Regions from separate parts of the Homo sapiens genome. Here all the other regions are linked to region 5. Evidence: promoter capture Hi-C in 16 types of primary human blood cells and fetal thymus (Javierre and others, 2016). All regions are on one chromosome and are shown on one strand. The core of a region is centred on a gene start or on the middle of the fragment in contact, and the rest is flanking DNA. Distances in the headings are between cores, read along the strand shown. Region 1 holds the start of MYRF-AS1 (MYRF antisense RNA 1). Region 2 holds the start of SYT7 (synaptotagmin 7). Region 3 holds the start of SLC22A8 (solute carrier family 22 member 8). Region 4 holds the start of SLC22A6 (solute carrier family 22 member 6). Region 5 holds the start of SCGB1D4 (secretoglobin family 1D member 4).

The links. Contacts are between HindIII fragments. The CHiCAGO score rates a contact against its expected background, and 5 or more counts as called.
Region 1: a contact is called between the fragment with the promoter of MYRF-AS1 here and the fragment with the promoter of SCGB1D4 in region 5, in 4 of 17 cell types (M1 macrophages, naive B cells, activated CD4 T cells and 1 more). The highest score is 10.8, in M1 macrophages.
Region 2: the fragment with the promoter of SYT7 here is called in contact with the fragment with the promoter of SCGB1D4 in region 5 in 4 of 17 cell types (M1 macrophages, M0 macrophages, neutrophils and 1 more); the score reaches 6.8 in M1 macrophages.
Region 3: a contact is called between the fragment with the promoter of SLC22A8 here and the fragment with the promoter of SCGB1D4 in region 5, in 4 of 17 cell types (activated CD4 T cells, non-activated CD4 T cells, erythroblasts and 1 more). The highest score is 8.0, in activated CD4 T cells.
Region 4: the fragment with the promoter of SLC22A6 here is called in contact with the fragment with the promoter of SCGB1D4 in region 5 in 10 of 17 cell types (total B cells, total CD4 T cells, naive B cells and 7 more); the score reaches 15.1 in total B cells.

What each region holds. Positions count from the first base shown.
Region 1 is chr11:61,756,414-61,759,113 of GRCh38, reverse strand. It overlaps MYRF-AS1 (MYRF antisense RNA 1), which reads left to right and starts at 1,450. Exons shown (of 4, transcript NR_026882.1): 1 at 1,450-1,625; 2 at 1,751-2,031. All of the region lies in intron 1 of MYRF (myelin regulatory factor), which reads right to left. RefSeq lists enhancers at 1,066-1,709, 2,220-2,269, 1,710-2,353, 2,354-2,700, 1,863-2,700. The HindIII fragment of the contact is 8,901 bases long and covers 1-1,585 here.
Region 2 is chr11:61,579,769-61,582,468 of GRCh38, reverse strand. It overlaps SYT7 (synaptotagmin 7), which reads left to right and starts at 1,393. Exons shown (of 13, transcript NM_001365809.2): 1 at 1,393-1,679. The coding sequence starts at 1,649. It overlaps LOC105369331 (a long non-coding RNA gene), which reads left to right. Exons shown (of 5, transcript XR_950166.3): 5 at 476-1,063. RefSeq lists silencers at 943-1,102, 1,113-1,262, 1,283-1,372. The HindIII fragment of the contact is 6,758 bases long and covers 1-2,700 here.
Region 3 is chr11:63,014,537-63,017,236 of GRCh38, reverse strand. SLC22A8 (solute carrier family 22 member 8) reads left to right here and starts at 1,396. Exons shown (of 11, transcript NM_004254.4): 1 at 1,396-1,508; 2 at 2,254-2,611. The coding sequence starts at 2,279. RefSeq lists an enhancer at 1,537-2,391. The HindIII fragment of the contact is 16,699 bases long and covers 1-2,700 here.
Region 4 is chr11:62,983,717-62,986,416 of GRCh38, reverse strand. It overlaps SLC22A6 (solute carrier family 22 member 6), which reads left to right and starts at 1,450. Exons shown (of 10, transcript NM_153276.3): 1 at 1,450-2,095; 2 at 2,370-2,473. The coding sequence starts at 1,727. RefSeq lists an enhancer at 1,763-2,313. The HindIII fragment of the contact is 6,991 bases long and covers 1-2,700 here.
Region 5 is chr11:62,297,680-62,300,379 of GRCh38, reverse strand. SCGB1D4 (secretoglobin family 1D member 4) reads left to right here and starts at 1,305. Exons shown (of 3, transcript NM_206998.2): 1 at 1,305-1,424. The coding sequence starts at 1,370. The HindIII fragment of the contact is 1,500 bases long and covers 634-2,133 here.

The DNA of each region.
Region 1 (2,700 bases), core at 201-2,700, 540 kb after region 5:
ACCTGTGCCCATCTGTGCCTACACACCGGCGTGGCCCCACGCAGGCACACTGCCAACACACACACATATATGTAAGGGCACACCCTGCAGTCAGGTATCCACTGACATGCGCATGATCACGTACCACCTGCCCCCTACTCACACATACACAGTACTGACACACAGTGGCATGCCCCACACATATACCCACACACATGCGCACACCAGCGTTCATCCGTGTGCCTTCATTCATTCAGCAGTTATTTACTGAGCACCTGTTATGTGCCAGGCAAGCATAGTGCCCAGCTTTGGGGCTACAGCAGTGAGCAAAAGGGACAAAAGCCTTGCCCACATGGAGCTGACATTCTAGGGAGCAGAGTCAGATGACGAGAGCAGCAAAATGCCTAGCATTCTAGAAGGTTCCAGATGGCGGGGACAGCCGGTGCAAAAGCCCTGAGGTACGAGCATGCCTGTGCATGTTCACACCTCAGCACACTTCACAGGTGTATATGCCAGGACACGCATGTACACAAACACTCACTGACCCGACGACAGGCCCAGGCCCACAGGCACAGCGTCACATGCATGGGTTAGGTTAGTGGCCACCCAGGAAGAGCTCCCACCTCCTCTTCTTCCCTCCAAGCCCCCTCCCCGCCTGCTGTCAGACCCTCCCTAAGCAGCTCCGGCTGGAGCCAGGCCCCACTGAGTGAACTCAGTGTCACAGGCACAACTTCCCTCCTCCAAGCTAGCAGGGCAGGGGATGGGGATCCCCTTGCCCCAGCCATAGAGGGAGAAGAGAGGGGAGTGAGGGAGGCCGGAGGGAGATAGGATCCTCAAACTCCACAAAGGAGAGACAGAGGCTGTGGTTGTGCACTCCGGTGGCTGCACGGACCCCGGTCAGCTGGAGGGAGAACTTCCCTCACTGATGCGACCTGGGGCACAGGGAGGACAGAATGTCCGGGAGCCCCCTCCATACTCTAGGCCGGCAGGGGGCTCCGGACCCAACTGTACTCCCCACCCAGGGGCTTTGCCCCTCCCCCCCTCACTCCAGGCCTTGGCACTCGTGGGATCTAACTGCTAACATCACCCAACCTTGACCATGTGAGTGAGGGCTCTGAGGTCTAGAGAGGTCAAGGAGGCTGCACGGACATCACCTGGCGTGGCCACCCGTGCTGGAGCCACCCCTCAGCATGTCAGGAGGAGAGGCCCCTTCCCTGCCCATCCCAGGCTGGCACAGAGCTGGGACCCAGGCTCCAGTCCCAGCTCTGTTGTGGCCACCTTGAGGGAGCCTGACACATCATCGCCTTCCTGTCCTGCCTCACAGTCCCCCTCAGAAATGGGAGGCCGTCACCCACGCTTCCACTGCACCCCAGGACTCCAGGAAGACAACGTGCAAAGAGCCTGGGTGCAGCAGATGAAGTCACAATACAGCCAAGCCCCTCCTCCTTGCTGGCAGCAAGAACAGAACCCAAATCTCAGAGGGGGAGGTGGGGCGGGCCCCACTGGATGTGCCAGGGACCAGGACCAGGCCACGCTGGGCCAGAGCTGTCATGGTTCAGGCCTTGCACACAGAACCACAGAACATGCTCAACAAGCCCCCTAAGCTTAGGGGCACTGACCTACCCTGGGGACCAGTAATCTTCAAGGTAGGGCGCAGAACACCTGCCATGGACCAATGGAGTGTTCACCAGGCCAGGCACAATCTTACCTAATCACCCCAGAAACCCTGGGACGGAGGCCCTGCCATTACAACTGCACTCCCGTTTTACAGATGAGAAAGCGGAGGCACAGCGGTGCCCTGATACGGCCAAGAGAAGCACTGTGGGTAAGCAGGAGAGCTAGGAACAGACCCCAGCTGCCCTCGCTGGCGAATGCACAGAACCATTACATCATCCTACCCCGAGACCCAACCAAGAGGTACCCACACCCCGTGGCAGCCGGGGCTGAAGGCCTGGAGATAGGAGAGGAGGCCCCACATACTCCAGCACCCAAGGCAATGAGAGAAACTGAGGCCCAGGAAGGTGCTAGGTCCGTGAAGAGGAAGGTGGGAAGGTAAGGCAGGCTGCCTGGGTAGGGCGGGGCCACCCAGTTAATGATTCAGTTAATAATTTCTGCTCCCAGTTCCTTATCAGGGAGGGCAAAGTCCAAGGGTGGCAGCCAATGAGCAGCTCTGCTGGGCTGTTACCCAGCAGCCTCTGCTGCCAGGGCCCTCCAGTCTGTAACCCCTTGGGAGTTGGTAATTGGGGAGTCAGGCCCCCAGGGAAAAGGCCATTCTGCCCTCAAATGCCCTCCTTGGCTCTACTTAAGACCCCAAGGAGCACTCTGTCCAGCCTTCCAGTCTCAGGAGAGTCCCTGAGGCCAAAGGGTTGGTAACTGCCTGTTTCTCACCCCTGCACTGACCCCAGGCCCTCCAGAGAGGTGCTTTCTGGGGTGCGTCCCCCACCCCCGCCGCCTCTGTTCACATACCCATTGTTGTCACCATTGACCCGGAGAGCACTTCCTGCCCACCCCCCACCCCTGCCCTGCACTGGGTGCTGGGGACATGGGGATGAGTCAGACCCCCTACTACCATTTCCTCCCCTGCCTGGGCTCAGGAAACCCTGTGCCTGGCCACCCCTCCCATCTACTTACTCCCTGGGTGCACCAGGGACAGACAGAGACAGGCTGACACGGGCCACAGTGCCACCCCCATCACGAAGCCCAGCTCAGCCCCCGGATTCC
Region 2 (2,700 bases), core at 144-2,643, 720 kb after region 5:
GGGTCTGTTTGTGTGTGTGTCGGGGAGACTTGAGATAGAGGGTTGTTCCTGGCTGCCTTCCACACTGTGGGCAGGTGGAGGTGTGGCTGGGCATGAGTAGTGCAGTATAAAGCCAGCAAAAGTGGATTTCTCAGGGTGGAAATAATAATCCTTGACTCTAGGAAGCCTGGCTCACCTGCAAACTGCATTCTCAGCACAGGGGAGGGCAGGATGCTGCCACAGACCCAGGGATTTTGCCCTCTTACCTGACCCATCAGTGAAGGGTAGGGGCAGCACCTGTATTGTGGGGAGCGTCAGTGTATGTGTCTCTTTGTGTGGGCAGCATGTCTGTGTGGGTGTGTGTGTGGGGGGCATCATGTCTGTGTGTGTGTGTGTGTGTGTGTATGTAGGTGATTACGTGTGTAGGTGTGTGCAGGGAGGTCTCTGTGCCTACCATACCACTAATGGTTCATTTCTGGGTTTTTCTTATCCTTAGGAGACAGGTCTCTTCTCCTCCCTGCCCCAGAATCAAATCATCCAAATTCTGTAGAGAAATGAGTGTTCACCTGATTTAGACTGTGCTGAGCCGGCAGAGAGGCAGAGGGGACCAAGAGAGGTCCAGGGTTGGAAGGAGAAGGAGGGATTTCCTTCCTACCCTCCGAAGTGCTAGGGTCAAGGAATAGAGGGGAGGATCAGAGGAGGAGCTGCTGCTATAGAGGGATAGCCAGAGGCTGAAAAGTCTATTTTCTTCTTTCGTGGGGCTGGGTTAGGTGAGGAGGGTCACTAGGCCAAACCTCCTACCGAGGGCAGGGATCTTAGCCCTTTCGGCTCCACCTGTGTGCGAGCTTGCAGAAAGACCGGACTGGCGGACCCAGGCTCAGCGCTGCCAAAAATTCCACTCCTGGTTTTTGCACACACCAGTCCGTCTGCCCCGGACCGCCGCGGTGTTGAGTCCGGAGCTGACGCCCTCGAGCCGCCAGCAAGCGGAAAACCCGGAGTGGATCTCCACGCCTTTTGGATCGGAGCCAAAGGGCACCTCGGAGGAGGTGGCCGGCTCTGCGGCCCTGCCCGGTGCCAGGCCGCGGCCATCGGGGGAGCACGGGCTGGGGGTGGGTCGCGCAGCGGAGCCGGATCCCCTGGCCGGACGAGCCCGGCCGTGGGGCTCGGCGGCCCTCCCCGCGGGGACTGCGAGGCGGGCGGGGCGCGGGGCGGCGGCCGTGCCCTCGGGGCGGCTTCGGGCGGCGGCGGGCGCGGGTGCAGTGCGGCGCGCGGCCGGCAGCGGGCGCAGGCGGTGGCTGTGGCCGCGGCGTTCGGCGGCTGGCGGGCGGCGCCGGCGGTGCCCCGGGCGCGCTCACACACGCGCTCACACACACACATACACACGGCCTCGTACACACACACACGCTCCGGCGCGCACACGCGGCGCGCAGGCCGGAGGGAGGCGGCTCGGCGCTGTTCGGCGGCGGCGGCAGCGTGCTCCGCGGGCGGGCGGGAGGGCTGGCGGGCGGCCCCCGCTCCCCGGCTCCGCGGCTAGGTGCAGCCCGCTCGGCCCCCGCCCTCGGACCCGCCCCCGGGGGTCGCCCGGCCCCATGCCCAGCGGCGGCGGCGGAGCAGCGCGCGGCCGCGGGCGGCTCTGAGGAGCCCGGAGGGAACCGGCGACGAGGGGACCATGTACCGGGACCCGGAGGCGGCCAGCCCAGGTAAGCGCGGCCCCGGCGGGCTGGGGCGCCCCGCACCGGCGGGCAGGACAGCGGCAGCGCCGGACGCCGTCTCGGAGCCCCAGCCTGGGGCTGTTGTCCGCCCGGAGCCGCACGGGCTCCCCCAGGGGTCATCCCAGCCCCGGGGGCGCGGGATCGAGCGGCAGCGGCTCGGACCCCGGTCCCCCGCAGTCTGGACACTGCCAGGCTGGATGTCTGGGACCGGCTTCGCAGTGTCCCCACAAGGACCTCTCCCCCACCCCTCAACAGCCCAAGGACAACGTGTGTGGCGGAGCGAGGAGCCGCTGCCCCTGTGGGAGCCGGGCAGTGCCCTCAGAGGCACCCGAGGCTCCCCAGCACCGGTGCCCCGGGGGTGCCAGCGCTGGCGGACCCCAGGGCGAGGATCCCGGCAGCTCTTGGCCAAGGTTGCGGGCACAGGGGAGCGGAGTGGCATCGCAGTGCCAACTGTGAATTGAGAGGGTGCCAGGGGGCAAGTGGGAATCTGGTGCGGCAGCTGGGCAGGGAGGTTCTGGGGGGTGGGGAACTGCAGGGGCGTTGATGGGTGAGACGGGGGTGCCTGAAGGGAAAGAGAGCAGGGGCTCATGAGAATGGGGGTGCCAAGAGAATGTTCTCCTAGGTTTGGGGAGGGGGAAGCAAACAACCCCAAACTCTCTCCCGTCCTGGGGTGGGGGAGGGCCGAACTCCTTTGCCTTCTGCTTCGCCCGCCAGGGGAGTGGCCTGGGAGCCCACTGTCTGCTTGGTATCCTCTAAGCCAAAGCCGAAGAATCTTCCCGTCTTCCTCGGAAATTGCTCTGCCATTTCCTCCTTGGCTCCTGATGCCTCCTCACCCAGTGCCCACCTGTAGGCAGGTCCCCTGCAGCTCCTGCCCAGGCTCCATCCCCGCTCCCACCTGGGGTGCTCCACCCAGTCCCAGCACCCCCAGTCTGCCAGTTCTGGCATCAGGGTCTGTTTCTGGGCTTCTCTCTGATGCTAAAAGCACGACTCCCCAGCCCAGGATGTGCTC
Region 3 (2,700 bases), core at 147-2,646, 720 kb before region 5:
GACGTAGTCTTGCTCTGTCACCGAGGCTGGAGTGCAGTGGCACGATCTTGGCTCACTGCAACCTCTGCCTCCTGGGTTCCAGTGATTCTCCTGCCTCAGCTTCCCAAGTAGCTGGGACTATAGGCGCGTGCCACATGCCTGGCTAATTTTTGTATTTTTAGTAGAGATGGGGTTTCACCATATTGGCCAGGCTGGTCTGGAACTCCTGACCTCGTGACCCACCCACCTTGGCCTCCCAGACTGCTGGGATTACAGGCTTGAGCCACCCCGCCCAGACCTCTAGGTGGCTCTTTAAGGGAGAGGCAATATATTAATAGTACAGTGCCCCCATAGGCTTCGTAGAGAATGTTGGTTCTAAGGGAGGGAATAGGCTTAGGGCCACCCTGCCCCTGCCCTGTGCTTCCTGGCTGGGGGATGGTGAGGAGGTCACTTAATCTCCCTTTGCCTCAGTTCCCTAATTATTAATGCTAGACTAGTCACAGGGCTGCCGTGAGGGTTAAAAGAGCCTAATGTTGGTGGCTAGAAGTTGAGGTCTTAGACTGAAGTCTCTGCTGAGGAAAAGACCAGAAGAACAGATAGGCTCTCAGGTGAGACTGGACATTTTGCTTTGTTTTGATTTGTTTTGTTTGGCTTGTCTGTATTTCCCATGTTTTATGCAGGAAACACACATTATTATATAATTAAAATAATATTCAGAGTGAAAATAAAACAGCAGGGACTACATTTGGTCCCCAGGGGGAAGCGGCTGATCAGGAGAGAAGCCTGTCCATTGAGGGTGGGATGGAAGGGGGCAGTTCACCTGTGTCAGAGACACAGACACGGAGGTCCTGGCTGCCCCAGGGGCCCAGGAGATGGCAGCCCTGCGTCCTCAGGGATAGATGAAAGTGACATTTTCTGTCTGGGTGTGCCCTAACACTTCCTGAGAGGCAAATCCCCTTCCCCTACTCGGGAGGTGCCAGGCAGGGGAGGTAGCACACAGGAGAATGCTGCCTGCTTACGGGCACCAGTGCCTTTCCCATTGGTTGTCCTCAGCATCAAGTCCTCTGAACATCAGTTGAGAGGGACCTTGAACCCTCAGAGGTCAGGCCAGATTCCTTCCCAGAATCTCCCCTCGGTGAGCCTGCCAGGGCTGCTCGCGTTGGGCGGATGTACAAAACGGAGGCACGTCTCAGACTTCCCATTTGGGCCCGTGGTGTCCAGCCAGCAGCCCTGCTAGGCTCAGCCACGCTGCCCCACCCCCAGCGGCCCTCGCTGAGGCAGCCCTTTGAGGAGAGCTGGGCTTGGTGGGTCCACAGCACTCTCCCTGCCAGTGACGTTAATCCGCAAAAGAAAGTCAAACATTAGCCCGGGAAACAGCTTATGCCTTATATAAGCCCCCCTGGGGGAGGCACAAACACAGCTTGTTAGAGCTGAGCTGCCCTACTACAGCAGCTGCCGGCCCCTAGGACAGAGCAGGGACCTCAACTACACTGATCACCAGCCCCATCGGATCCAGACCCGGCCACCAGGTGAGGAGGGATGGAGGGCCTCCCCAGCCCAGGCACCTAGGAATCCCAGGGATCTCCCAAGGCCAGGCTCCACTTGCGACTAGCCAAGCCCCTAGTGCCCTCTGAGACCTGCTTCGGGCTCTTACAGATACTCCAGCATGGTGGGCCCAGCCCCAGGGAACTGCCAGAAGCCAGGAGGCTCTGAGCTTGGGGAGGCCTTTCCCAGCAGACAACCTGAACTCTGCTAACCCTGTGTATCTGCCTGGAGCAACTGGGGACATTCACCACCCACCCTCTAATCTGTCCTTTGTAGCCAACATCCAAGGCTGGGCCCCTTGGTCCCTGCTACGTGTCCTGCACTGCTCCATGCATGCAGCATGTGCAACCAGCCTAGCTGAGCACACACATGCTCGTGTCCGCAGGTGCACACGCTCACAACACATACCCGAGCTCACGCAGCTGTGTCCTTATGCTGCAGCCTAAATGAGCACATACCCATAGATACCTTTGTGTCCACACACCTGGACACACACTTCCACCTTTGATCCCACAGCCCTCCGTGCAGCTGGGCTCTTCCTCAGACATCCACACAAGAATCTGCGGCTCCACATGCCTGAGCTTCCACATCTTTACACACTTACACATGCTCTGCTCCACACACCTGTGCTCGCATATCCACCTGGTTCACCCTCCCACATATCGTTCCATAGACCCACGCACTACCAGGCACAAATATACCTCTCCCTGGCCTATGCCCTGCCCACAGCTCTGGCTCGTCTTGCCCCAGTGCCATGACCTTCTCGGAGATCCTGGACCGTGTGGGAAGCATGGGCCATTTCCAGTTCCTGCATGTAGCCATACTGGGCCTCCCGATCCTCAACATGGCCAACCACAACCTGCTGCAGATCTTCACAGCCGCCACCCCTGTCCACCACTGTCGCCCGCCCCACAATGCCTCCACAGGGCCTTGGGTGCTCCCCATGGGCCCAAATGGGAAGCCTGAGAGGTGCCTCCGTTTTGTACATCCGCCCAATGCCAGCCTGCCCAATGACACCCAGAGGGCCATGGAGCCATGCCTGGATGGCTGGGTCTACAACAGCACCAAGGACTCCATTGTGACAGAGGTATGCCTGGGCAAACCCTCTCCCTCCACTTACCCACGTACCCCCATACCCTGCACCGCTGGTGGGCAGCAGAGGAGGCTGGGGTCTGG
Region 4 (2,700 bases), core at 201-2,700, 690 kb before region 5:
AAAATAACACTATGGCTGGGTGCGGTAGGTCACTCCTGTAATCTCAGCCATTTGGAAGGCTGAGGCAGGTGGATTGCTTGAGCCCAGGAGTTCAAGACCAGCCTGGGCAACATAGCAAAACCACATCTCTTAAAAATAAATAAATACATGTGTGCTGGTGCACACATGTAGTTCTAGCTACTCAGGAGGCTGAACTGGGAAGATAATCTGAGCCTGGAGAGGTCAAGGCTGCAGTGTGCCAAGATTGTGCCACTACACTCCAGGCTGGATGACAGAGTGAGACCCTATCTCAAAAATAAATTAAAGAGGCCAGGCATGGTGTCTCACGCCTATAATCCCAGCACTTTGGGAGGCTGAGATGGGCAGATCACCTGAAGTCAGGAGTTCGAGACCAGCCTGGCCAACATGGTGACACCCCATCTCTACTAAAAATAACAAAAATTAGCCAGGCGTGGTAGCACATGCCCATAATCCCAGCTACTCGGGAGGTTGAGGCATGATAATCACTTGAACCTGGGAGGCAGAGGTTGCAGTGAGCTGAGATTGCACCATTGCACTCCAGCCTGGGCAACAGAGTGAGACTGTGTCTCAAAAAGAAAGAGAAGAGAGGAGAAGAGAAGAGAAGAGGGGAGGAGAGGGGAGGGGAGCGAAGGGGAGGTGACAAAGGAGGGGAGGGGAGGGGAGAAGAGAAGAAAACAAGAAGAAAAGAAAAGAAAAAAGACACTATGGACAGAAGACAATATGACTAAGGGAAAAATCTGACCCTTGGAAGGGTCAGAAGAATCACTGGAAGAATCACCCGACATTGTGTATGACGTTGGTCTTAGGTCCCACTCCAAGAGCGGCCTCTGACTTCTGTTGTTTCTTCCAAATGAATAAAACCATGGTTCTATAAGATGTGAGCTGTCCCCAGAAGAACAAAGACTGGGGTTGTCACATTTAGCAAATAAAGATACAGGGTGCCCAGTCAAATTTGCATTTCAAATCAATGAAGAATTGCTTAGTATAAGTATGTCTCATGCAATATTAGAGACATACTCATACTTTTAAAAACTCTTCATTGACCTAAAATGCAAATTTGACTGGGCACCCTGTAATTTCCCTGGCAACCCTTCCCAAAAGCAGACTATTTGGATCTCATCCACTAAAAAGGGCAGAAACTCCTCAAGAGGCCACCACACTTCCCAGAGCCCAGTCTCCTTCCTAAAAGGAAGACAAATAGGTCCAATAGATCCCACTCTGGCCCCCCCTGCCCCCAGATGCCCCCCTAATACACCCCTCTCCCTGCTCCTATTCAGTCCACCCTCTCCTGCCCTTTATAACCACTTGGAGAAATTCCACTGACACAAGGAATCCTTGGAGGGTTAATCCTTCTGATACCAAGTCACACTTTAACTCATTCCCTCCAGGCCAAGGATTAAAAACTGCCCATGCAAGGGTCAGGTCTCCAGCAGACCCTGAAAGCTGAGCTGCCCTGACCCCCAAAGTGAGGAGAAGCTGCAAGGGAAAAGGGAGGGACAGATCAGGGAGACCGGGGAAGAAGGAGGAGCAGCCAAGGAGGCTGCTGTCCCCCCACAGAGCAGCTCGGACTCAGCTCCCGGAGCAACCCAGCTGCGGAGGCAACGGCAGTGCTGCTCCTCCAGCGAAGGACAGCAGGCAGGCAGACAGACAGAGGTCCTGGGACTGGAAGGCCTCAGCCCCCAGCCACTGGGCTGGGCCTGGCCCAATGGCCTTTAATGACCTCCTGCAGCAGGTGGGGGGTGTCGGCCGCTTCCAGCAGATCCAGGTCACCCTGGTGGTCCTCCCCCTGCTCCTGATGGCTTCTCACAACACCCTGCAGAACTTCACTGCTGCCATCCCTACCCACCACTGCCGCCCGCCTGCCGATGCCAACCTCAGCAAGAACGGGGGGCTGGAGGTCTGGCTGCCCCGGGACAGGCAGGGGCAGCCTGAGTCCTGCCTCCGCTTCACCTCCCCGCAGTGGGGACTGCCCTTTCTCAATGGCACAGAAGCCAATGGCACAGGGGCCACAGAGCCCTGCACCGATGGCTGGATCTATGACAACAGCACCTTCCCATCTACCATCGTGACTGAGGTGAGCACCTGGGGCTCCCCATCCAGGGGCCAAGATGGGAAGATGGGGGCCTTTGTTAAAAAAAAAAAAAAAGTACATGGAGAAATTAACTGCTGAGTTTTTTAACTGCTGAGTTAAAAAGAAAAATGCTCTCAGCTGTCAGGACCAGAGAGGCAAAGGGCAAAGTGCCGGAGGAAGAGGGTGACATGGACCCCAGAGGACCAGCTGAAGTGGGGGAAGGGGATTCTCTGAAGCCAGGCTCATCTCTGCCTGACCCTTGCTCCTCTCCCCACAGTGGGACCTTGTGTGCTCTCACAGGGCCCTACGCCAGCTGGCCCAGTCCTTGTACATGGTGGGGGTGCTGCTCGGAGCCATGGTGTTCGGCTACCTTGCAGACAGGTCAGTCCTGGGTAGGGTCAAGGGGCTGGGCTGGGCTGGGATTAGGGGCTCAGCTGGGCTCAGGGTGTCTAGGTGGGAGCTTGGCATTGCCAGCCGGCGCTGGTTTGAGGATCTACAGCACCAGCCTCATACTTCAGAGGTCCTCAAAAGGCCCCAGCCCAGGCATCATCCAGGGTGAGCCCTCCTCTCCTGGCTCAGCCTGACCCCCATCAGTCTCCAGGGCCCTG
Region 5 (2,700 bases), core at 56-2,555:
AAATCTGTCAATGTGTCTTTGATGACAAAACCCGTAAGGTCCCCTTCCTTCTTAAAGGTTTTCCTGGCTGGATCTCAGCCCTGCTGTCTGTGAGAAACACCAGAGCAGTTTAAACAGTACAGAAAGGAGGGATTCACCCCAATGCTACTGAATCAAAATCGCCAGAGAGAGAAGCCTGTGGGGTCAGTATGTTTTAAAAGCTCCAAGTGATTTGACTACATAGCTGAGAATGGAAAGCTATGGCCTGGGCTGTGACTCCTCTCAAATGTAAGTTTATTTAAGAGAAAAATTTCTGGTGATTAAACTCACACCACATGAAGGCACGGCAATGGGAGGGAAGGCGGGTGTGTATTGCTTTGTCTGGGGGCTTCCTTCACTTTCCCTTAAAAATGGGATTGGCCCAGGCAGCACAGATAGGTTTGAAGTGGAAAACTTGAGCCTAGGGGTTAGGGGGAAGTGACCACCCACCCTGTTCCTCTGTCTCTTCCCTTCTATTATCTTCCCAGCCTAGAGCCCCACTGATGTATGATTGGCTCTGAACACTCCAAAAGCTCTTGAGAAAAAGAGTTAGGTTATTTAATCTTCAGATCAGCCCTAAGATAAGACGTGGGTGGCTACACATCACAGAAAGCTTGCTTTTTATAGATAGAAAATGTGAATCTTGGCCATATATATAACTGCACGTATAAACAAGATTCAGGTTTGGGAGTGAGGCAGGCTAGAGAACAGGTGCAGCAGATGTTTTTCCTCAGCATATCTTCTACAGGTGGGATGTATTCAACTATGTTTTCAGTACCTATGCAGTGAACATGGTGGTGATGGAAGGGGCTGAGGGGAAGGATTAGACTTTCCCAATGTGCAACTGAAACAAGCCTGCTTGTTGTCAGACATGCAGGGGGATCAAAGCAGGGTCTCCTTATGTCCCTGCTCTCCCATAAAGAGAACACAGCCTTCCAGCTTCCTGTGCCTTGTGAAGCCATAATTCACCTGTGCCCCTGCACTGCTACAAAGATAAAAAGAACTAATCAGCAAAAGCTCATAAGGAAATTGAGGATCCCAGGAACATTTCCAGATGTACCTGAACACTCACCTGGAGCACAGAGCAGAGTTCTCACAAGGCTGCTGTCTTGTGCTCCGCCCCACTCAGATGCAGAGATTCCTAAGGAGGTGACATTGATGGACGGCAGCAGCCCTGGCTTGGAAGGGCGGGCTGGGAGCCAGGCCTCATGACCTACCAGGTGCCCCGGTAGGTAGGACCAGCCAGGCTCCCTAGGTACAAATAGCCCTGGCCTCCATGACTACACAGGCTCCTGGAGTCGAATCCAAATCACTCATTGTGAAAGCTGAGCTCACAGCCGAATAAGCCACCATGAGGCTGTCAGTGTGTCTCCTGATGGTCTCGCTGGCCCTTTGCTGCTACCAGGGTGAGTACATCAGTCATGAGTCCAGCACCAGCCCCTGGGATGCACCCTCTTCTGAGCACAAGATCACCTATTTGTGCTTTGGGTTGGGGTCTGCACAAAACCAAACAAAATTCCAAACCCTTTTCTGTGCTTGTTGAATAAGATTCATAAAGGTTAGAGCTATTTCTTCTTTCTTCTTCCTTTTTTTTTTTTTTTTTTTGAGAAGTTTTGCTCTTGTTGCCCAGGCTGGAGTGCAGTGGCATGATCTTGGCTCACTGCAACCTCTGCCTCCGGGGTTCAAGTGATTCTCCTGCCTCAGCCTTCCTGAGCAGCTGGGATTACAGGCATGGGCCACCACAGCTGGCTAATTTTGTATTTTTAGTAGAGATGGGGTTTCTCCATGTTGGTCAGGCTGGTCTCGAACTCCCGACCTCAGATGATCTGCCCGCCTCGGCCTCCTAAAGTGCTGGGATAACAGGCATGAGCTACTGCGCCTGGCTGCTTAGAGCTATTTCTTCTAATCCCCAGTATCTAAGAAGTTTTATAGAAAAATCAGTTCAGGCAAATGTTAGGAATTCTTCTGCCTGAGCTTCACTTCTGAATGGGATCTGTGTCAGATGATGTAATGTGAGGTCTGGGGTGAACCTGGGCTTCGACACTTCCCACCCCTTGATCTTGGGCACAATGCTCACCCTCCTTGAGCCTCCTCTTATCACTGGTGGTTAAAGCTTCTGCCAGGAGTGGCTATGAGAATGAAGTAAGGTTATGGTTGTCAAGAGTCAAGCTGTGGGCCAGGCATGGTGTCTCATTCCTGTAATCTTAGCACTTTGGGAGGCCACAGTGGGCAGATCACTTGAGCTCAGGAGTTCAGCACCAGCCTGGGCAACATGGCGAAACCCCATCTCTACAAAAAAAAAAAACAAAACAAAACACACACACACACACACACACACACACACACACACAAAAGCGGGCATGGTGGCAGGCACTGGTAGTCTCAGCTACTTTGGGGGCTGAGGGAGGATCGCTTGAGCCCAAGACATTCAGGCTGCAGTGAGCCGAGATTGTGCCACTGCATTCCAGTCTGGGTGAACCTATCTCAAAAAAAAGAAAAAGAAGTCTAGCTGAGGATATGAAGCTCTTCCCTTTGTTGTGTGACCCGGAGAAAGTCACACCTGGAGTTTCTGGTATTGTCATCAGCACAATAATGGTATAGAAACATAGAACCCAGGGGATCCTGTCTGGTGTAACCTCAGGGAGCCATGAGAGAAAAATCGACTTTCCTAACATCAACAAT